3 separate regions of the Homo sapiens genome follow, and all the other regions are linked to region 2. Evidence: promoter capture Hi-C in 16 types of primary human blood cells and fetal thymus (Javierre and others, 2016). All regions are on one chromosome and are shown on one strand. Each heading gives the region's core, a stretch centred on a gene start or on the middle of the fragment in contact. The rest is flanking DNA. Distances are from core to core; before and after follow the strand shown.

Evidence for each region. Contacts are between HindIII fragments. The CHiCAGO score rates a contact against its expected background, and 5 or more counts as called.
Region 1: a contact is called between a fragment that was not itself captured here and the fragment with the promoter of GRIA4 in region 2, in 4 of 17 cell types (M0 macrophages, monocytes, megakaryocytes and 1 more). The highest score is 6.7, in M0 macrophages.
Region 3: a contact is called between a fragment that was not itself captured here and the fragment with the promoter of GRIA4 in region 2, in 2 of 17 cell types (neutrophils and monocytes). The highest score is 5.8, in neutrophils.

Annotation. Positions count from the first base shown.
Region 1 is chr11:104,607,262-104,610,504 of GRCh38, forward strand. It overlaps LINC02552 (long intergenic non-protein coding RNA 2552), which reads right to left and starts at 2,041. Exons shown (of 4, transcript NR_120585.1): 1 at 1,976-2,041. The HindIII fragment of the contact is 1,713 bases long and covers 464-2,176 here.
Region 2 is chr11:105,608,514-105,611,689 of GRCh38, forward strand. It overlaps GRIA4 (glutamate ionotropic receptor AMPA type subunit 4), which reads left to right and starts at 1,560. Exons shown (of 17, transcript NM_000829.4): 1 at 1,560-1,915; 2 at 2,395-2,572. The coding sequence starts at 2,485. RefSeq lists a silencer at 2,536-2,736. The HindIII fragment of the contact is 4,294 bases long and covers 1-3,095 here.
Region 3 is chr11:104,590,226-104,593,434 of GRCh38, forward strand. The region is part of intron 1 of LINC02552 (long intergenic non-protein coding RNA 2552); the gene reads right to left. Among named protein-coding and RNA genes, the nearest start is that of LINC02552, 17 kb to the right of the region's middle. The HindIII fragment of the contact is 3,654 bases long and covers 1-3,177 here.

The sequences.
Region 1 (3,243 bases), core at 70-2,569, 1.0 Mb before region 2:
GCCTGTGTTTCTTATGGCTCACCTAGGTCTAGGAGATTTAACTGATTACTTAATCTTTTATCTAAAACAAACCATACTAATTTGTACAAATACCTTTAATTCTGTGTGAAATTATTTTTATATTCTTTATTTAAGAAAATGTGATGTTGTATCTCTGTCTTAAATCATCAAAAATATAATGACAGAAAAATTAAAAGAAAGAATAACAGAGGAAACATATGGATAACACTTGAATTAATTCACCATTCCAGTGTCAGGAAGATAGTTTCTGCAAACATTTAAAAAATCTATGTATTCTGACGAGTTGATGTCTTGTGATGGTTTTACAAGAAGAATCAAATATAAATATCATGTTGTAAAAGATTAATATGCATGCATCTGCTTTAAATAGAACAAGGCTAAAGAACATTTTGTTCTTGTTACTGCTTCTCAATAAGTTTGGTAGTTCAGTTTAACTCAGGTAAGCTTTCTAAATGTCTAGCATCTTGTCCAAGCTCATAACAAAGATGTTCAAATGCCTTGGCACCCTCCTATTATTATTCCTTCCTGCTCTCCTCATAACCTTTTATTTTCTCATTTTTCATTTAACCATTCCTGGACCTCACTCTCATCTTGCAATATCTAATAAGCCTTTACTAAGGACTGAACATGTGAGGGCCAGATTTGTGAACTGGACTTTTCTCTCTGTAGATTTTTCAATTAGGTTTTCACAATGCCCTAGTTTCACTGAGTCAGTAAAACTCCCAGATGTTTCCATTCTTTATGTATCTCTCCTTGTATCCCTCATCTCTGTCATAATTTTAGAGACCCTCTTGACATTTAAAAAATTTGGAAACAACAGTTTCTTATTTCTGCCTAAGAAGACTTAAGATATTTCTGTAAAGATTTGGTTGGACACATATAGACATTTATTCCAAATTAAATCAGTGGTCTTCTTCAGATTGAGTTCCAAGCTGTAAACTTCAAAGGATAAGTTCTGCTTTACTAACTGTAATGCCAAACCAATTATTTTATAAAAACAATTAAATTGTCATGAACATAAGATTTCATATCCTGAAAGAATAGGAATAAGTTCTATTTTCACAATTAGTTTTCTATGTATAGTCCTCAACCACAATGCCTGTGAACCACCATCCTGGGAAATAAACTTTTCTTGAGATCTCAAAGCAAATGAAGACAAGTAACCAGCATGGCACAAATGCTTCTCTGCTACTACGTGGATTCTTTTATAGACACTGATTATATATTAAGATATTAATTTTATCCATTTACACTCATCAAAAAAGAAATATATGGTCCACATACTTAAATTCAACTTCTTTCTTAGAGGCAATGGACTAAGTACAATCACAAGCAATAGACAAACATCATAACTTTAATTTTTGGCTGTAAAAATGGAATAAAAACAGTAATTGTATTCATCATCGCTTGATGAAGTCTTTAAAATGTTACTTTTATTCTAGGAAGAATGTAGGCAACCTCTAAAGGGTTGATGTGGCAAGAAAGACACTGATATTTTTTCTGGGAAAAAAATACCTTGGCTCTGAACGAAAAAGAATATTGCTGAAATTATAGTTAGGAGCCTAGTTCTCCTATTGTTAGAGCTCTTTTAGGACATTTTATGATATTTTCTACAAGCACAGGACTGTGGCTATTTAGCTTGGTTTCTATTATGCCTTTCTTGGCATCATGTAGGATAACTAGCACATCTTATAGGACACCAGTGAAAGACAAAATAGACAACACAAAAATCGTATGGCATTCCTCAAACTGTTTTATGTGAAAAAGAAAGGCTGTCTTATACTATTCAAATCCCTAGACGAATATGTCAAAATAAGAGTACGAGAGGAAGGGGTTATTTCAAGGATATCCCACATATAGACAACATGGTGCATTGTGACATCGTTATATAAATATTAATAGTGCCAGAATACTAATCCCTTCATCGGGGAGGAAATATTCTAAATTCACTTACCTCTTGCAGCACTTTCCTACATAGTACTGTAGACACAGCCCATTGGCATCCTAGAGATGGCATTCTGAAGAGAAAGCAGGATCTCAACTCCTCTCAAGGTGTTCCTCCCTCCCTTGAAGGTCAGGATGTCTTGTGCTGGCACATCCTTTGGTGGGTCAGTAGATGGCAGTGTGTCTGAATCTAGTATGTATGGTAGGGGAAAGCTTTTTAGCATTTCCCAAGAAAATGAAGGTTTTGAAAGCTGTGAGGCAGCATGGGGCCTAGTGCATGGGCCAGAAGACTTGATCTTTATTTCTGGCTCAACTCCTGAATACATTTACTTGAGTAAATGGACACCAGCCACTTAACTTTTGTGTTCTTTGCTTTCTTGAACTTGAAATTAGACAAAATACTCTGCCTCTTCCCATCTCCCTCACAAGGACCCTGTGAGTTTAATCAGACTTCAGATTAGTTTCCGTTCTTTGAAGAAAAGACTCCTTATGAATTTGCTATGCTATTTATAATGTCAGTGGCAAAATTGATCTGGGTTGTTCTTCTGGGACTTGAAGTAAATAAACACAGAGGCATTTGGCAAGAAGGATCTTCTGTATTTCTGTGCCATAAAATGTTGGTGTATTTTGGTTTTAAGTAGCAGCACTGGATCTCAGGATGCAAAATTATTCTTGTTACTTGGAATTAAAATAACTTCCTCCATTCCATGGAACTTGACAATTACGGAAGGAAGCCAATAGGCCTCTGGCACCTTCCCAATTTAAATTTAAACTGTTCACTGCAAGTACAGATTCAATCAGATACAATCATTTTCACTTTTCCCTGCTATTAAACATAAGAATTTTCACTTCAGCATTTTACTACAAAGGTGGCACTCTGATAAATGTTAAATGAAATGGTAAGTAGGAAATACCATTGAAGGGTTGAAAGATGATTCTTTTTCCCAACAAGATCCAGCTGTGCATGAATTCACTGGAAGTTAGAATAGTTAGAATCCTCAACCAAAACATACCTTCAGCTGCATGGCACCAAAATGGGTCATGACAAGATCATGTTGGGGCAAAACAAACTTTAACATCTCACCTGTCAACCTGGCTCTGGTCACGATCAAAGCTAAGCTTCTTTGAAGAAGCCTTGCTACTTTGAGGCTGGTAACAAGGATCAAAAAGGGATACAATAAATAATACTATTTCTGGACAGGTAGATTCTGATAGGGAGGTCTAGCGTATTTCTAATACAGATGCCTACCTCATCTGGTCTTCTTGGAAACAAAAAAT
Region 2 (3,176 bases), core at 310-2,809:
CAAGCAAGTGATGAGTTTAACAGTTTGGTGGATTTTGAAATTTTAATTTAACTTGAATTTTATGTGTCATACTCTATTATCCTTTTTCAAGAGAAAACAGAATGCTATTATTCACAGCCTTGTTTTTTAACACAGAAAAATAAAAAAAGGAAAAATGCTTCAAATTTCACTTGACTTGCAAGACTAAAACTTCACAAACTAAAATGACAAATGTATGATTTGTAAAATACAGTTACAATTAGGTTTTTTTTTTCATAACAATCTGTGGTGAAATGTAACGGGAAAGCAGACACTTATTTTAAAGATGCAATTTTAAAAATAAAATTCAAAACTTAGGAAATAGAAAAGCACTCAAGTTTTAGCAGGGATTTTAAAATGTCATCTACAAACTACAAATACAGGTAATCAGTGACACCAAATAAAGTATTTTGAAAGAGTTAAGGTAATGTATATTTCAAAAAGCCGTTACCAGGCTTTCTGTAAGTCCCTTGCAAGAATTCCACTTTAAGCATTGTAGTCTCAAATATTATATCAGGCAAACCTAGGCATTTGCTATATTCTTTTTAAAAATTTAATGGCAGACATCACCCTAGGTTCCCTAACGTTTAAGGAGAACCTCTCCTTCTAATGATTCTCTCACACAGCTTATTGGAACAGGAGATTGTATTTACTAACTAGATCAGGAAATCTCAAACCATACAGAGGAAATCAGAAACCGGTCACTCACGGCTACCACAGTGACTGCTTCTGAGTGTGGTTCAAGCTCAGTCCAGGACAGGCAGATGAAAGGACAATCTTAAAGGTGACTCTGGAGAGCAAGTGAGACTGTAACCCCAAAACTTTCTAGGATAATTCATTTTCACTTCTACCCAGTCAAAACAACTATTGACATCATCACTGAAGTGCTTAAGTCTACCTGGAGGTGGCGTGGAGCAGAGTGAGCATTCCAGAGTCCCAGACAAGAGGAGATGTGCACGAAACACTATCTTCCTGTCAGACACCTGTGCCCACTGCCCCAAGCACTGCCCCTCTGGTCCTTCATCAGCCTTTGCGCTGTGTCCCTCCTGCTCCTGCAATGGGCCACAGCACAGAAGGAAAGAGTCCTCCGGAATGGGTGACTGTATAGAAAGCAATCGAATCTTTAATCACTTTTCCTACTTTACACTTCACGCAGTTCTTATTCCTATCCCTGCTTCATGCCTTTCCAAGAGAATGTTAGAGGCCTCTTTCAATTTTCATTTCTCAGTCTTTTCCCCATCCCGTTCAGTACCCTAAACTTCGTCAGTTATTTAAAATAACCTTTTACCCCCTCCTCCCCTTCCCAGGATGTTTCAACTTCTCTGGCTCTCTTCCCCATCCTTACCTCCTCCAATTCTTTCATCCTGGTCCTGGCCTCTTAAACCCGCCAGGGGCTGCCCTTTGCCTGTCTTTTCTCCTCCCATCCCTCTCTGAACCCTTTCACCTCATCCATTCCCTTGTCAGGCTCTCCAGATTCCCGGGCTGTTTGCTGGTGAGAAATCTTTGCTGCAGCGAGGACCGGAGTCCCCCGCGCGCAGCCCAGTGGCAGAAGAGGGCTAGGCTGAGAGGGAAGCCAGGACTGTAGGAGAGGGAGGCAGCCCGTCCTCCTCACGAACCTGCAAGGATGCGGCAGGGGCCTGGGGGCATGGGGAGGTACTAACCCCCCGGAGCCCCCGATTGGGGCTTGCAGACCTGGCCCGTGGGCGGATTTTCTGCCTAGCGCAGCCGAGAAGCAGAGGTGCCAGGAAAACCAAGAGAGGGGCGCTGGGGGTGCCCATCCCCAGAGTCGGTCCCTCTGCGAACCGAGGAAGAAAAGAGGAGGGAGTCAGCGAGTGGTCAGAAGGGAAAACCTGACACCAGACTGGCTCCGGAGCGTCCGGGAGACTGGGGCGCTCCGGTGAGCACCCAGGGGGTGAAGCCAGCCGAGCGGTGGGCGAGGGGCGTGCGGAGGGAGTGCGCGCTCGAGGAGGGGACGCCAGGAGGGCAGCGATGCTCCGGGCTGGTGCAGGCTTGCTGGGGGATGTCGGCTGATGCGAGCTGGAGAGCGCGTGTGGCGGCCGCGGCGCCAGTGTTTGTGTGTATGTGAGAAAGCAAGGGGCGAGCGCGAGTGCGAGTGAGGCAAAGATAGAGCGCATGTCTCATCCCTGCGAGCAGCCACTAGACGCTCCACCACCATCTTTTGCATGTGCAACATTTGCAGCCGGACAGAAAACCTCTCCCAGGGCTATGGAGACTGCGGGAAAAATCTGGCGGCTCGCGATGGATTGCTAAGGAGAACTAGTCATAATCTTAAACCACCGAAACCTCTTTCCTTTTTTTTCTTTCTTTTCTTTCTTTTCTTTTTTTTTTTTTTTTTTTGGTTGATTTTAATTTTAGCGCCATCGTCTTCAATGCTTCTCTGAACAGCCTTTAGGAAGAGTGCGAGAGAAAGAGAGAGAGCGCGCGCCAGGGAGAGGAGAAAAGAAGATGAGGATTATTTCCAGACAGATTGTCTTGTTATTTTCTGGATTTTGGGGACTCGCCATGGGAGCCTTTCCGAGCAGCGTGCAAATAGGTAAGGTGTGCTCCGATGGGGTGTGCATGTGGCTGGTTGTAGCAGATATCCGAAAGTGAGTTAAATGAGTTGCTGATAAGCAATTCAGGGAAACCTTCAGCAGTTCCCTTCCCCTCTGTTTCCCTCCTCTTCCTTTCTCTCCTTTGCAAAAAGACTTCCTCTTTAGTGCAGGTTCCGTTGGAATACACCCAGGGCAGCCCACCCATGCGTTCTCAGCCCATAGCCCTATTTCCACCTTTACCTATAGTCGCTTAAGTAGGATTGAAATAAGTTGGGGGAAAGTCTTCGGGGAATTTGGTTGTATTTTATATGATATTTATTTCCATCCCTTTCTCTAAAGCATAAAGTGATGTCGAGTTTGTTTAAAAAAGAAAAAAAAAATCCACTTCTTCCCATTCTGGACGCCGCAGCTTTCTTGCTATTACAGAAAGACACTGTTTGAGGAAAAAGACATTTCCACCCGCACGCCCTGCCGTTTCTTGCTACCAGTTAGCAGATTCCAAAGTTAGATCCCTTTCCTGGAAGCTTCTCCCCTTTTATTTTGTTTTCTTCTTGAAGCTTTTGCCCTTATTTCTCTACCTCGACTCTGTTTCCAGGGACACCC
Region 3 (3,209 bases), core at 101-2,600, 1.0 Mb before region 2:
GAGGGTGCTTAATCAAGGGGAATGAGTATAAAATAGGATAGGTAAGAGTTTCTTGACTTGTAAATACTCTCCTATGATGTAGAATTTAACATCCAGGCAATGATCCCAGGATATGGGGCAAACTAGAATGTCAACTAAAGGCACGTAAAAAGCAATGGACTATGCTGAATGAAGTCAAAGGGCTAAAAACTGGAGAAGTAGAAAAGGGAAAGGAATAAAAATGCTCTTGGAAGTGGGCAGGCGGGAAGTAGATACAGCATATATAGTCAGCAGGTCTAGCCAATGGGTATGGTATGCTTCATGGAAAGGCCCAGAGGATGTATTATTTATAAGGGCTATGAGGAATAACCTGGTGAGACAGGCACCAGCAACACTAAAACTTGTAGTATTGCCTTTACTTTGTGAACTATGACTGTTAGTTGGATAAACTAAAATGTGGCTTTCTGATAGCAGTGGGGTTAATAGGACCCACCTACACTTCAAAAAAAAAAATAGACGATAGGTGGTGGAGTTAACCACTAAATTTAATAGGTTACAATTATCTTATTATCCAGCAAGTTATAGTTGAAGTCAAGAGATCTGACCCACAGAGGATTATGAATTGGTAGATATTTATATAGTTATGGCACATGGCATCTCTATAGCAAGACAGATAGGTGGGCAACAAGGATATTACTCAGCTTGTACCAGCAGAAGAAATCAAGGATGGATGACCAGGAGGCTGAGGGTAGTTACCTCAATAAAAAAACATACCTTCCTCAATTCTCTAACCTGAGTCTGTTTCCTGTTCTCAAATCATTTGACCAAAAATAAAATTAGATCCTCCCAAGAGAAAGGAAGCTGCAACAACACAGTGAGTCTATTCCACAATGACTCTCATTCCTTCGCCGAAGGGATCCATAGCCAGTTATTCGAGTTAAACAATAAACTTGGAAAAAGGCATTATTCAAATACTTGTAGGACTACTGGACACAGGTCTTAATTGACATTGATGCCTGGAGATCCAAAGCATAATAATCATAGTACCATAGATGAGAGCTGGGTCATATGGGGCCACTAAGGTGTTCAATACATGTATGGGTGGATAAATATTTGTAAAAGTACCTGGCCTACATTAAAAATAAGAATCAACAAAGGCTAGTTAAATCTGTTAGCTGAATGCCACCAAGAAGCATAGATGAGCAAGATATCAGAGCAATATTTGTTTTAGGAATATAGGATTGGCTTGACTTTTGCAATTATTTGCTTTCATAATTACTTTTTAACCTAGGCTAACATTAAAATTAGTTATTATTCCCAAGGGCATAATGAATGCCAGTAAACAATGTCAAGGACAATTTTCTCAGAGCAGAAAATAAAGTAATACTGCAGTTGATTATTCATATGCAGATACTAGAGAGTTAGCTACCAGACAATGGTGATCAATAATAAAAAGAAATGTTGAGTTATTTCGTTCTGTGCAGATGACAGCTGCCCATAAGCTGTTGCCAAATCAGCACTCATAGAACATGGATACAGCCCCAGTATAATTTCTAAGCCCAGAGATTGGAAAAGTGACCACCTGCCCCTCTGCAATGCAGTGGAATTTTTCAGGACAGGTAAATTTGTCGAAATCTATATACTGCCACAATATTTAGATTGATTTATAAATTTCTCAAATAGTCATATGTTAGAAATGAAGAATTTTAATATTCTTCTTATGTGACCCTGTCATGATATAATCCAGTACAGTTGGTCTAGAGATGCTCTGGAATTATAAACAAAAGTCCAGAATCAGGTAGCATCCAAAGCCTTCAGGCATTTTTAATTTTACTGCACAATCCTACTCTAACTGCTGTTGCCAGAAAGGGTCGCCATAGGGTGTGATTTAGCATAATACTGATAGCCACAGTGCTCTAAAGGCTGAACACAGAGGGAAAATCCAGGAAGTAGCCTGGTTCAAGTAGGTCTCAATAACTGAGCCAGATTTTGTGTAAAGTTGGACATTATAAATGGTTCTTTGGGACATTTTCCCTTTTACTTCTGAAATGTTTTTCTTTTGTTCCTGAAAGTCAGATCAGATGCTCATTTAAAGAACTTTGCTATACATACGTGATCTTTTGAGGTTTCAGGGAAAGTGAATTCATTCTTTTAATATGCTTCTGTGGGCAGATTTTGGAGAGCAATGAAAATAATTTCATTCTCAAAGTATGCTGAAAATTTTATACAATAATGTGTTTTGATCTGGGGAAGAAAAGTTCAATTAAAATTATAAAAATAATACAATTGGAGCACTGAAAAATAGTTTCTTGTCAATGAATATTTCAAGACCATAATATTTCTTGAAATATTTTTATTTATAAATTAACCCAAAGGGATATGTTAGTTATAATAATATTAGACTTGCTCAAAAATTAATTTAAATATCAAAGTATATTTTATTAAAGTACTTGTAAAATAATCATTATACCTATGAGTAAGCAATTAGACAATTTTAATCTCAAACTGAAAACCTCAAAATTTACCTCTGCTAGCTTGTATTACCTTCTAGCATTCTCTAAGCAGTACTGATCTTGCTTTCAGATATGGTAACTATCCTCTCCCCACAATTTCATTGAACAAAATCCTAAGACTGTTCTGATTCACTAAGAAATCAATTCCCTCTCTCTCTCTTCTACTTGAAACTGTAGTCAAATCACTGTGTTAAAATTCTAGATTGACACCTTGGGAGGCCGAGGTGGGTGGATCACTTGAGCTCAGGAGTTCAAGACCAACCCAGCCAACATGGTGAAACCCTGTCTCTACTAAAAATAAAGATATTAGCCAGGTATGGTCACGCACGCCTGTAATCCCAGCTACTCGGGAGGCTGAGGCAGGAGAATCACTGGAACCCAGGAGGCAGAGGTTGCAGTGAGCCAAGATTGTGCCACTGCACTCCAGCCTGGGTGACAGAGTGAGACTTCGTCTCACAAAAAAACAAAATTCCAGATTCACTTTGTTAATCAACGTTTATTGGGGGCCATTGTTTTGGACTAGCCTCCTACATGAGGCTCCAGTAGACCAGGAGGGAGTCATTTGTGCTAAGGGCCACATGAGTCAAACTAAACTTTCAAAAGAGCCAGTTTTTGGGAAAAAAAAAAAAAAAAGCAAAAACATAAAAACAAACAAGAAATTCTAGTCAAACTGGGAAATTGGGGAAGCTTAATAAGGAAGACTTCTCTTTTTTTTTT